Regions from separate parts of the Homo sapiens genome. Here all the other regions are linked to region 1. The links are contacts of gene promoters, found by promoter capture Hi-C in human tissues and cell types (Jung and others, 2019). All regions are on one chromosome and are shown on one strand. Each heading gives the region's core, a stretch centred on a gene start or on the middle of the fragment in contact. The rest is flanking DNA. Distances are from core to core; before and after follow the strand shown.

Region 1 (4,443 bases), core at 745-3,244:
GTCCAAAACTAGGTGGCCGCTTGGGCTGGCCTCTGGATCCATCGCCAGAGGGGGTCTACAGAACCGGGGCAGGTAGCACAAGAGCAATCCCGAATGAGCCCCCAAATTTTTAACTGCTCAACTGGTTCACCATGCCCACTACCTACACAGCTGATTTATCAAAATAGGGGAATTGCAATAGAGAGAGTAATTCATGCAGAGCCAGCTGTGCAGTCTGGCTGAGTTTTATTATTACTCACATCAATTTCCCCTAGCATTCAGGGATCAGAGGTTTTTGGGGTTTTTGTTTGTTTGTTTTTGAAATGGAGTTTCGCTCTTGTTGCCCAGGCTGGAGTGCAATGGCACAATCTCAGCTCACTGCAACCTCCGCCTCCCAGGTTTAAGCGATTCTCCTACCTCAGCCTCCCAAGTAGTTGGGATTACAGGCATGCACCACCATACCTGGCTCATTTTGTATTTTTAGTAGAGACAGGGTTTCACCATGTTGGCAAGGCTGGTCTCGAACTCCTGACCTCAGGTGATCCACCCGCCTCAGCCTCCCAAAGTGCTAGGATTACAGGTGTGAGCCACTATGCCCCACCTTGGAGATCAGAGTTTTTAAGGATAATGTGGTGGGTTAAGAGAGGCCAGTATGCCAGGAGTGCTGATTGGTTGTGTTGGAGATAAAATCATAGAAAGTCAAGGCTGTCTTCTTGTGCCAAGTCAGTTCCTGGTTGGGGGACACAAGATCAGATGAACCAGTTTATCAATCTGGTGGTGCCAGCTGATCCATCAAGTGCAGGGTCTGCAAAATATCTCAAGCACTGGTCTTAGGTTTTACAATAGTGATGTTATCCCCAGGAGCAATTTGGGGAGGGTCAGAATCTTGTAGCCTCCAGGTGCATGACTCCTACGTGTCTAATCTTGTGGCTAATTTGTTAGTCCTACAAAGGCAGTCTAGTTCCCAGGAAAGAAGGAGGTTTATTTTGGGAAATAACTTATCTTATTTTTTAAATTAATTAATTAATTTATTTATTTTTGAGACAGAGTCTTGCAGTGTCACCAGGCTGGAGTGCAGTGGTGTGATCTGGGCTCACTGCAACCTCCACCTCCCGGGTTCAAGCGATTCTCCTGCCTCAGCCTCTCGAGTAGCTGGGATTACAGGCACGCACCACCACGCCCGGCTAATTTTTTTGTATTTTTAGTAGAGACGGGGTTTCTCCATATTGGTCAGGCTGGTCTCGAACTCCTGACCTCAGGTGATCTGCCTGCCTTGGCCTCCCAAAGTGCTGGGATTACAGGTGTGAGCCACCGCGCCCGCCCAGGTGATTGTATTTTAAGAGCCTGGGGCTGGGAGGTCCGGGTACTAGTCCCATCTCTGCTTTGGCTTTCTGGATGGCTTTGGACAAGCCAGTGCAACTTCTCGAACCTGTTGCCTCTCATATAATAGGAACCTCCGCCACTTCTTGAAAACTTACTACAAGCCAAGTATTGTGATCAGGGGTTTCTATACGTCATCTCACAGTTCTATTTTATTTTTTTGCTTCAGAGAGAAACAAAAATAACGCTCCGGAAGACTGAGTAACGTATATATGAGCAGGAGCTGGTGACTGGCATAGGCTGGACTCGATCCAGCTCTGTGATTCTAACTCTAGCAACCCTGTTTTTTCCATTACACCATAGGGCGCGCTCTCCCCATGCTCCTGAGAGCAGGACATAGACTATGCCCTGCGCAGGCAGCCGTCCGCCTCCTGCAGGGAATGCTTGCTCCTGGGTGCACGCACGGATACCGCGATGGTCCGAGACCACGCTCTGGGACAGCAAGCCTCAAGCCTCGCACAGGAGAGGGCCGCGGAGCTTCCTCGACCCGCCCCGCCGCCCTTCCCGCGGGAGGCCCCGCCCCCGCCCCCCGCCCCGATTGGCTGTCGGGAGAGAGGCGGGGCCTAGGGGATTGGCTGCCCGGCGACCGCGGGCTGACGTGGCGGGGCTGGCGTGTGGGTCTCGCAGCGTTGCTCACAGAACAGAGTAGAGGCGGCGGCGGCGGCGGCCGGACCCAGACTGGTAGTGAGGCTTTGGACCCCGAGCCGCTGCAATGCCGCTGGAGCTGGAGCTGTGTCCCGGGCGCTGGGTGGGCGGGCAACACCCGTGCTTCATCATTGCCGAGATCGGCCAGAACCACCAGGGCGACCTGGACGTAGCCAAGCGCATGATCCGCATGGCCAAGGTGAGGCGGCAGCTCCCGGGACCCGGGATTCGGGCGCCGGGAGGGGCGGGGCGGGGCCGCGGGGAGCCAGGGCCACACGGCCTCCGCGGCTGGGTACCCTGGTCCGGCCTCTTCCCGCCCGCCAGTTCCGTTTTCGGAATCCTTCGGATCCCTCTTCCTCACCGTGTCCGCCACCCTCGTGACCTTTCTGCATTACAGCAGCTGCCTCCTAACCCGACCTGTTTCCTCCCCGTTCTGGTGCCAGAATAATCTTTCTAAAAGTCAGACTTGATCAGACCATCCCCCCTGCCTGGCACCTTCTGTGGCTCCCTCCTGCCCGCGGGTAGAGTCGAAACCCTTTAACATAGCCTTCAAGATTTTAATGACTGGGCCCCTTCCAGCCCGTCATAATTCTTCTCTGACATTCTTCAGCGACACAGAGTTACTTTCAGGAATGACAGTTCCTGGAAGTTGCTGTGGTCTCTCTCACCCGCCATTCCCTGTATATGAAATATGAAGTGGTTAAAAGCCGGGCCTTTGAGTTCAAATCTCAGTTCCACCACTACTAGCTGTGTGAACATGGGCTGCTTACTTAGCCTCCGTGAACCCTTTTCCCCATTTGAAAACGGGGCTTGAAAACAACAGTTCTTTCCACATGGAGTTGTTATGGGGATCAAATGAGATTCTCAGATAGAGCTCTGAGCCCAGCACTTGGCACACATGAGTCGGTAAATGCGTGCTCCCTCTTCTGTTGGGACTGCCATATTCTTCATTACGACCCCAGCCCCCAGCATAAGGCCTGGCCTGCACTATGATTCTTTGGTTTAGAGATAGCTCACCCCATCTTTCCTTTCCCTTCATCAATGCTACTCAACTGATTTTGTATCATTTGTGATAGGTTTTTTAAATGTTTATTTATTTATTTATCTATGTTAGAGACAGGGTCTTGCTCTGTCACCCAGGCTGGAGGTTTTCTCTTACTGTTTTTTTTTTTTTTTCCTGGTTTTTTTTTTTTTTTTTTTTGAGACAGGGTCTCTGTATCACCCAGGCTGGAGTGCAGTGGCATGATCCCGGCTCACTGCAACCTCTGCCTCCCAGGCTTAAGTGATTCTCCCACCTCAGCCTCCCGAGTAGCTGGGACCCACAGGCGTGAACCACCATGCTGGGCTAATTTTTTTGTAGAGATGGGGTTTGGCCATGTTACCCAGGCTGGTCTCGAACTCCTGAGCTCAAGCAATCTGCCCACCTTGGCCTCCGAAAGTGCTGGGATTACAGGTGTGAGCCACCACCCTCGGCCCTTGCTGTTCCTTCGGGACTGGTTTTATGGAAACCTAATCACTGAATCATAAAAATACTTTACAAAAATAACATTGCTAACATTTTTTGAGTGCTTACTCTACCAGGTACTAAGCTAAATGCTGTACATGCACCATCTCATTTAATTTTTACAACAACCCAATGCCATGATGCTGCCGATTTCATTTTAAAGGCTAAGAGAAAATAAGTGACTTAGGCAAGGTCACATAGCTAGTATAATAAATACAGTAAGGGGTTTTTTCAGTTTTTGCTCCTAAGCCACAGGACTCCAGCCTTTCTTCTGCAACATTGTTTTCTAGAGGGAAATTCCCACTCTTAATTTGAAGGAGCAGTCTGTTTTTCCTCTTGGAATGCCGAAGTTGTAGAAATATCTAGAGATACTGAAGCCATAGAAACAAAGCTGTACTGACCAGGTGCAGTGGCTGATTCCTGTAATCCCATCACTTTGGGAGGCTGAGGAAGGCAGATTGCTTGAGCTCAGGAATTCGAGACCAGCCTGGGCCACATAGCGAGACCCTGTCTCTAATTCCATTGAGCTGGAATCTAGGTGGCTGCAGCCTTTAGGAAAGGGATCTGGCCAGCTCTGCTAGAGACACTGTGCAACTTTAGTCAGGTCAGTCTGGGCCTTGGGATCTTCATCTAGACAATGAGAGCTCTGTTGCCCAAGGTCACTTTCAGTTCTAATGTTCTTTGAACTTTCCAGCATCAAGTCCTGACTCTACCATCTTATGATTTGTCTAAGAGCAGGAGTAGTGATCTCAGCACTGACATTTCTGGACCCAAGAAGTTTTTATTTTTTTTTTTCAAGACGGAGTCTCGCTGTGTCACCCAGGCTGGAGTGCAGTGGCGTGATCTCGGCTTACTGCAAGCTCCGCCTCCTGGGTTCACACCGTTCTCCTGTCTCAGCCTCCCGAGTAGCTGGGATTACAGGTGCCCACCACCAC
Region 2 (4,443 bases), core at 711-3,210, 170 kb before region 1:
TATTTTGTTCCACTGGAAGGTTTTCAGGGACAATAACACACACGGAGCTGTCCTCTCCTATGATAACAATGCCTTCTTCTAGAACGCCTCCTGGAGGATCTACCTGAGGCTATTTTACTTCTTTTTACATAAGTAGAAAGAGTATGCTCTAAAATAATGATTAAAAGTATGGTATAATAAATACATAAATCAGTAACATAGTTGTTTGTTATTGTTGTTGTTATTTTTTAAGTTGAAACAGAGTCTGGCTCTGTTGCCCAGGCTGGAGTGCAGTGGTGGGATCTCGGCTCACTGCAACCTCCACCTCCCAGGCTCAAGCCATCCTCCCACCTCAGCCTCCCGAGTACCTGGGACTACAGGCACACATCACCATGACTGGCTAATTTTTGTATTTCTTATAGAAATGTACAGATGAGTTTTCACCATGTTGCCCAGGCTGGTTTCAAACTCAAGCCATACCCCATCTCAGCCTTTTGAAGTGCTGGGATTACAGACATGAGCCATTGTACCCAGCCCATAGTCATTTATTATCAAGTATTATGTACTATACATCGTGTATATGCTATACTTTTATAAGACTGGCAGTGCATTAGGTTTGTTTATACCAGCATCACCCCAAACACATGAGTAGTGCATTGTGCTATGATGATACGACGGCTGGATCTTGCTAGGCGATAGGAATTTTTCAGCTCCATTATAATCTCATGGGACCACCACCATATATTGCAGCCCATTACTGACATAAACATACTTAGGTTATGACTGTACTTGGGTTAAAGATGATAATTACTGTAATTGGTTGACTATTCTAAGAATAATAATTATAGATAAATACAAACATGTATGCAATATAATGGATATGATTAATGTTTATTTTTAAAAGTTGTTTCAGTTTATTCAGCTAGTAAATATACACATATCTTGTTTTATTTAATATACTGATACTTTGTGTTTCAAAGCGATAGACATAAGCTTTAGATTTAGTAGTCATTTGTATTTTTATATAACAGCATATATCTAGGTATAAAAGGATATCAGTAAATCCTTTATTATACATCATTATGTAATGCTTATGTAAAATTACTCGAATATTTTATGCCCACATTAGTAAAGTTTCTTTTGTGTCACCAAAATATTTTTTTAACTCTTGGTGCTTTCTACCATACTTAGTTAAGTTCCTAATAATCATTGCTCCTAGGCTGGGCACAGTGGCTCAGCACGTGGGTGGGGAGGATTGCTTGAGCCCAGAAGTTCAAGACCAGCTGGGCAATATAAGGAGCCCTTGTCTCTACCAAAAAAAAAAAAAAATACAAAAATTAGCCAGGCATGGTGGTGCATGCCTGCAGTCCCAGCTACTCAGGAGGCTAAGGTGGGAGAATCACTTGAGCCCAGGAAGCGAAAGTTGCAGTGAGCTGAGATTGTGTCGCTACACTCCAGCCTGGGTGACAGGGCTAGACCCTGCCTCAAAAAAAAAAAAAAATTTGTTCCTTATTGCCATGTGTTACAATGTCACCTGCCTTGTCTTTAAATACTTATGGTTTACACAGGTAAACCTTGCTTTATTGAACTTCACTCTATTGTGCTTTGCAGGTATTTCATTTTTTTTTTTTTTTTTTGAGACGGAGTCTCACTCTGTCGCCCAGGCCGGACTGCGGACTGCAGTGGCGCAATCTCGGCTCACTGCAAGCTCCGCTTCCTGGGTTCACGCCATTCTCCTGCCTCAGCCTCCTGAGTAGCTGGGACTACAGGCGCCCGCCACCGCGCCCGGCTAATTTTTTGTATTTTTAGTAGAGACGGGGTTTCACCTTGTTAGCCAGGATGGTCTCGATCTCCTGACCTCATGATCCACCCGCCTCGGCCTCCCAAAGTGCTGGGATTACAGGCGTGAGCCACCGCGCCCGGCCAGGTATTTCATTTTTTACAAATTGGAGGTTTGTGGCAACCCTGCATCAAGCAAGTCTATCAGTGCCCATTTTTCAACAGCATATGCTCACTTCATGTATCTGTGCCAGCATTTTTTAGCAATGAAGTATTTTTTACTTTTGTGGATACATAGTAGGTGTACATATTTATGGGCTACATGAGATATTTTGATACGGGCATGCAACATGAAATAAGCACATTGTGAAGAAGGGGTATCCATCCCCTCAAGCATTTACCCATTGAATTGCAAACAAACCAATTACACTCTAAGTTATTTTAAAATGTACAGCTATTATTAACTATATAGTCACCCTATTTTGCTATCAAATAGTAGGTCAGATTTATTCTTTTGAACATTTTTAATAAAGCATTTTAAATTATAGTTTTTTTTAGACATAATGCTATTGCACATCAACTTTTATGTGCACTGGGAAACCAAAAAATTTATTTGATTTGCTTTATTGAAATATTTGCTTTATTACAGTGGTTTGGAATCGAACCTATAATATTTCCAAAGTATGCTGGTATCTTGTCTCCTCTAACTACACACACACACACACACGCATATATATATACATAGAGAGAGAGAGAGGGACTTGCTCTGTTGCCCAGGCTGGAGTGCAGTGGCACGATCTCGGCTCCCCACAACCTGCACTTCCCGGGTTCAAGCAATCCTCCTGCCTCAGCCCCCCAAAATAGCTGGGATTACAGGCATGCACCACCACACCCGGCTAATTTTTAGTGTTTTTACTAGAGGTGGGGTTTCTCCACGTTGGCTAGGCTGGTCTTGAGCTCCTGACCTCAAGTGGTCTGACTGCCTCGGACTCCCAAAGTGCTGCGATTACAGGCGTGAGTCACTACGTCGGGCCATCCTCTAATCATCTTTTCTTGATTTTTGCCTTTCCCAAATCCAGGTTTCATATTCAAAACAACAAAATTGTTAAGATGTTTTCATATCTAAACAACATTTGGGTGTTCTAAAGTAACCACCAGGTAACACAATGGTTTGCTCCTATACTACCTATGAAAGGAATGACGAAAGGAATAATTAGGTTTGTATAGAATATTGTGCATTATAGTCATAACTGCTGTGAGAACTCCCAAATCAGGGTGGTGTGCAGGTTAGGGCAGAGTTTTGGGAGAGGCGAACTGTTCTGTACAAAAAGGAGAAGAATCATAATGCTGAGGGGAGGGGAGGGACCTGGGAGAGGGGAGTGAGCAGCAAGCAGGGTGGGGCACCACCTGAATGAAGGACAGAAGGTGAGAGCCCTTAGGGGCACAGCAGCACAAAAGACTTTGGGAGAAAAGGAATTAATAAGAGGGAATTTTTAAGTTGTTTGTCATGGTGTGTGCTATGGGCCTCCTTCCCTCTTGTCACTCTTACACTGTCTTTAGAAAAGTCATTCTTTTTTTGTGAAAGGGGATTCTCCAGGGAGTATTGAAGGATGCAGGGATGAATTGTTTGTTTCTGAAATGGAGTCTTGCTCTGTCACTCAGGCTGGAGTGCAGTGGTGTGATCTCAGCTCACTGCAACCTTCACCTCTTGGGTTCAAGTGATTCTCATGCCCCAGCCTCCTGAGTAGCTGGGGTTACAGGCATATGCCACCAGGCCTGGCTAATTTTTGTATTTTTAGTAGAGACAGGGTTTCACCATGTTGGCCAGGCTAGTCTCTAACTCCTGACCTCAAGTGATCTGCTCACCTCGGCCTCCCAAACTGCTGGGATTACAGGGGTGAGCCACTGCACCTGGCCTGCATGCAAGGCAAAAACACATCATGAAGGGAAGCTGGAATGGAAGTCTCCAGGGTAAATTCCTGGAAATGAGCAAGACTTTCAAAAGCTGTGGAATTGAGGGGGTGTCAAGCTGAGATCTCAAGGGGTAATGGACCCAATTAATGTCTAGGTTCTAGGTGGGAGAAATAGGAAGTAGCACAAGGGATATATCTGACATGATGATAAGATGGAGTTGGAGAACAGGAAGGCCCAGAGAAGGGTGGGGAGATTTAGAAGGAGCTGGAGGGTTAAGGGTCTTCTGGACTAAATAGTCGGGGTGGGGGAAACTATGAGTTAAGCTGGCAGTCTGTCCTTCCCGTCCCACCCTACAGAAACCGAAGGCCAGACTCCAGCAGAGATTGAATCTTTTTTTTTTTGTCTCTCTTCCCACTTGTCTAAATGAATTATTATGTTAGCCCAGAGAGACAACTGAGATGGGAACTCTCAGGAAAAAAGAGGGCATCATCTTTATGGACATGGAGGGGTTACGGTTGAGACTAGGGCTTCTATCCAATACTCACAGACCATCTACCTGGATGTGGTAGAGGGGTTCAGGAAAAATTCCCAGCCAGGGACTGGATTATTAAGAGTTCAGAATAACCGAAGGGGAGCAGAGTCTTCGCCCTGTTTGTCAGTCCCCTCCATTTAGGTGTGCTGGCCAAGCCTTTCCTCCATTTTAGGGCTGATCTGGATAGTAATGCTGAGCCTCTGAAAGGTTCCAGTCGGAGGCTGGAGCCCTAGTGCTGT
Region 3 (4,443 bases), core at 673-3,172, 130 kb before region 1:
GCAGCTGGAGAAACAAGTTTGAAAATCATTGTTTTATATATATATAGCGCGCGCGCGTGTGTGTGTATGTGTGTGTTTATAAAACTGGGCCAGAATTACTGCGCTTGCCACTAGATGGTGGTGTTGCTAAAAATGATAGTCCCGCTTTATCTGTGGAAAGACTAGATTTAAAGAGATATTTGCCCTCCTGGAGGGCATGGTAGACGTTGTTAATCACACAAAAAAATATGTAATTACCAAGTGTGACAAGTACTGAAATGCAAAGCTGATTTGAATATACTAGGGAAATAGATTGCTACTTCTTTTATAGGTAAAATTTCTCTTGACTGAAAACGGGAACTTAAATATGCAGCACATTTTTTAGTCTATGATTTGAAGTTCTTATTATCTTGTCTGGAATTATATGTGATTATTTGCAGTTTATAAGACTTAACCTCTCCTCCAGATGTAAGACCTAGAAATCTGCCTTAAAGAAATGACCTAAATAATTATGTAGTCTTCAGCTTGTACTACTTTGAGAAACACTTCTCAGTAGAGTGATTCTTAACCTCTCATTTGGGTGAAGGACCCCTTTGAGAATCAACTAAAGCTTTGAACCGTCCCACACATCATTTTGGCTATAATATCATATGGTTCATGGGTTTCTAACCTAACATGAGAGGAGGGCAGCACAAAGTCAAGCTAGAAGGATTCTTGCAAAACTTTAATTCTGTCACCTAAAGGTTCTAAGCCAAGAAGAACGCCAGAAGAATTTTAGATGCACAGTGATGTTTAAACAAGAATGGTGAGAAAGCAGAAGTGGTGTGTGAATGCAGGGAGTGATGTAAGAGGGCAAGCAGAAAGGGTCCCGAGAGGTGGAGAGAGAAATTCTGCTTCCTCTAATGTACTGCATTCCTCTTTCCCTCTCCTTCCCCATCTCATCTTTGTGCTCCTGTGCACTGTACGTATGCAAATCTCTTAAGGTCCATCTTAATGCAACGCTGTTAGAACTTGAGACTTCAGTTTACTCTTTTTTTTCCTCTAATTTTGGCCCACTCTGGCAGGTGAAATTGAGACAGAAGCACATTCCAAAGAAGAAAAAAAAGCACTGAGGAAGTCAGATGTGACTTTGGGTGAGTACCTTCCCTCTATGTTATTCCCTCATCTTTAAGTGAGAGTGATAATCACCGCCTGGCCTATTTCACATACTTTTGTACAGATCAAATAAAATAGTTTATGTGAAAGTATAAATGTTGAAGTGTCATTGAGAGGTAAGAAACTATTATATGGTTGTGGCCGGGCGCGGTGGCTCACTCCTGTAATCCCAGCACTTTGGGAGGCCGAGGAGGATCACGAGGTCAGGAGATTGAGACCATCCTGGCTAACATGGTGAAACCCCGTCTACTAAAAATACAAAAAAAAAAAAAAAATAGCCAAGCGTGGTGGCGGGCGCCTGTAGTCCCAGCTAGTCGGGAGGCTGAGGCAGGAGAATGTCGTGAACCCAGGAGGCGGAGCTTGCAGTGAGCCGAGATGGTGCCACTGCACTCCAGCCTGGGCGACAGAGTGAGACTCCGTCTCAAAAAAAAAAAAAAAAAAAAGAGACGAAACTATTATGTGGTTGTGCTGCCCTGCCCTCAGTATGTTGTGTAATAAATATAATAGGGGTATGAATAATTGTGCAATGAATACATCCTGATGGTAAAAAATTTAATGTACACACAAAAGGGGGTAGGCAGATAGGAGGGAAACAATATTGTAACATCCCACTGTACTATTGGTTCTCAACCCTACCTCCACTTTAGGATTGTCAGGAGAGCTTTTAAAATAAAAACATCCTAAATGCAATTCTATATCCTGGATTGGACCCTGAAGCAGACAAAGCACATTAGTGGAAAAATTCATGAAAACGGAATAATGTCTGTAGTTAATGGTAGTGTAACTATCCTGATTTCTTAGTTTTGACAAATGGCCCATGGTTATGTAAGACGTTAACATTGGTGTAAACTGGGCGAAAGGTATATAGTAACTTTTGTACTATCATGACAACTTTTCTGTAATTCTAAAATTATTCCTCCAAAAACTATTATTTGAAGCATAAAACAATTAAAAAATAAATATACCTATGCCTGTACATCAGCTAGATGGGGGAATCTGAATCCCTGGGGGAGAAGTCTGGACATATATGTATTTTTGAAACCTTCCCAGGTGAGTCTAATGTACCAGAAGGGTTGAAAGAACCACTGCTCTCTCATGTTCATTATACCATGAATGCCTGAGGGACTGTGACCCTGTCTTGTTCTTTGATATAGCTAGTACCTAGCACAGTGTCTATATGGAAAGCTTGTGCAAGTGTGTTCTTGCTGAATGAAACTTTATTTGCAAAAATATCCTTAGTCCTCTGTAATAACAGAAGGAAAAGTGAAAACAAAAAATACCAGGGTAGATTTTCAGACATCTTCCCATCCAGAACAGCTTCTATTCCTGCCCCGGTCTCTTGTCGTTTTCAGTTAATCTTTACCATTATCACCATATTTACCATATTCCTAAAATAGTGAAATTGCCATTCCATTGTTCAAAAATCTGACTTCATTCCCCATTTTTAACAAGTGATATATTTCTTGGTTAGGTAAGCAAAATATTCTATGCTCTAGTAATATGAGCTTTTCAGCATGCAAGCCTACTACTATTTCATATGGACTCTACATTAACCATAGTTTGCCTGCAGTTCTCTTGAACATGTTTTGAACTCACCCTTCTCTTTGTCACATACAGTAATGCTGCTATCCTCATCTATGCAAATACTTTCCGTCTTTCAAGGCTTCATGCCTGTGTAATTTTTTCAGGTCACTCCAGCAAAAAGTGAGCATTCTCTGTTTGTATCTACCATTCAAATGGCACCAGCCCTTACTATTTTCTTTTGTGATTATTTGTTTTCTGTTTTATTTCCCCATGAAACCAAATTAACCCCACCGTGGGGTGTTAGATAGGTCTTCTAACCTCCGCAATTCTTAACATGATGGTATCCACACAGTTAAGCATGTAATAATGATTTAATGTACATTGTGCACAAATACAATATTTAAAAAATAAAAATAGAAAATCAAAATTCAAATACAAAAGTAAACTACATTCATCACTCCAAAATATCTTTTAAGGAGAATTGTTAAAACTGACCAAAAGAGTCAACTAAAGCCTGAATAAAATTTTGATGCTACTGTTACATTAATAATTGAACAGCATTTACAAGAAAACTATATACTCCACAAAATGTATGTGTTCAGTCTTAGTCACTTATCTGCTCTTAAGACGTAAATAAATGTTCTTAGGGGGGAAAACCAATTATCCAGTCCTCCCCGCTTCCTTATTTGTCTGTTCCCACCACTATCCTCTCCCCGACCTATACATACATACACACACACACACACACACACACACACACATTCTAGCATGATATTGTCTATGTGGTAGAGCCTTAAAAAATGTTATTTCTTTCAGATATGGTCTACAAATAGAAAAAATAATATTAATGAGCATTGTCAAAAGTTTTACAATATTTTGAGAAAATCACGCATAAACTATTAAGCTGTATGTTCCATTGGACCACAACTTTATGGTTGAGCATTGTTAAAACAAAACATAACTATAGACATCATTTTCTGGATGACTCTCATTCAGAATTGCTGGTATTCCTGGCTCTTCTTTGGGTTTTTCTTTCATTTCTGTAAAATCAAATAAAATAAAAAATAGATTCAATAAATTGTATTGGGACAATTGACTCTCCATTTGGAGGAAGAAAAACTGCTTTACAACATACACAACAACAAACCGTAGATGGGGTAAATTTTTAAATACCATAAAGTTATAGAAATAATAGTGTTTTTAGTAATCTTAGGATGCTAAGCAGAACACAGAGACCAGAAACCATAAAGGAAAAGACTAGCAAGTTCGAATACCTAAAAAGTAAAATTATATATGGTGAAAACCACTATAAACAAAGTTAAACCAAATCAAAGACAACTGGAAAAATATTTGCAACATATACATAGTAAAAACTATTATTTAAAGAGGTTTTTTAATCGGAAAAAAGAAATAAAAAATGTTGAATGGGATAAGGATTCAAACAGGCAATTCTTAAAAAATTATATTTATAATAATCCTGAAAAGATGTCTAGTAACATTAATTATAAAAGGGGGTGATTAAGACCATTAGGTGTGTTTTATTTTTTAACCTATCACTTCTCAGCCTTTTGGCTAAGATCAAGTGTATTTTTTTTTTTTTTTTTTTGAGCCGGAGTCTCGCTCTGTCGCCCAGGCTGGAGTGCAGTGGCGCGATCTCTGCTCACTGCAAGCTCCGCCTCCCGGGTTCACGCCATTCTCCTGCTTCAGCCTCCCGAGTAGCTGGGACTACAGGCGCCCGCCACCGCGCCCGGCTAATTTTTTGTAATTTTAGTAGAGACGGGGTTT

What was found. The method cuts DNA at HindIII sites, captures the fragments that hold promoters and counts their contacts. A contact is called where the count stands out against the background at its distance.
Region 2: a fragment that was not itself captured here is called in contact with the fragment with the promoter of NANS in region 1 in 1 of the 25 tissues and cell types used here (hippocampus).
Region 3: a contact is called between a fragment that was not itself captured here and the fragment with the promoter of NANS in region 1, in 7 of the 25 tissues and cell types used here (adrenal gland, bladder, dorsolateral prefrontal cortex and 4 more).

What each region holds. Positions count from the first base shown.
Region 1 is chr9:98,054,738-98,059,180 of GRCh38, forward strand. It overlaps NANS (N-acetylneuraminate synthase), which reads left to right and starts at 1,995. Exons shown (of 6, transcript NM_018946.4): 1 at 1,995-2,203. The coding sequence starts at 2,072. It also overlaps a transcript of TRIM14 not described here. RefSeq lists enhancers at 1,504-1,553, 2,594-2,713 and silencers at 1,744-2,093, 2,174-2,343. The HindIII fragment of the contact is 24,529 bases long and covers 1-4,443 here.
Region 2 is chr9:97,884,801-97,889,243 of GRCh38, forward strand. No RefSeq gene overlaps it. Among named protein-coding and RNA genes, the nearest start is that of FOXE1, 34 kb to the left of the region's middle. The HindIII fragment of the contact is 3,353 bases long and covers 285-3,637 here.
Region 3 is chr9:97,923,781-97,928,223 of GRCh38, forward strand. HEMGN (hemogen) reads right to left here. Exons shown (of 4, transcript NM_197978.3): 4 at 3,011-3,698. The coding sequence ends at 3,604. Among named protein-coding and RNA genes, the nearest start is that of TRMO, 3.5 kb to the left of the region's middle. The HindIII fragment of the contact is 4,400 bases long and covers 1-4,122 here.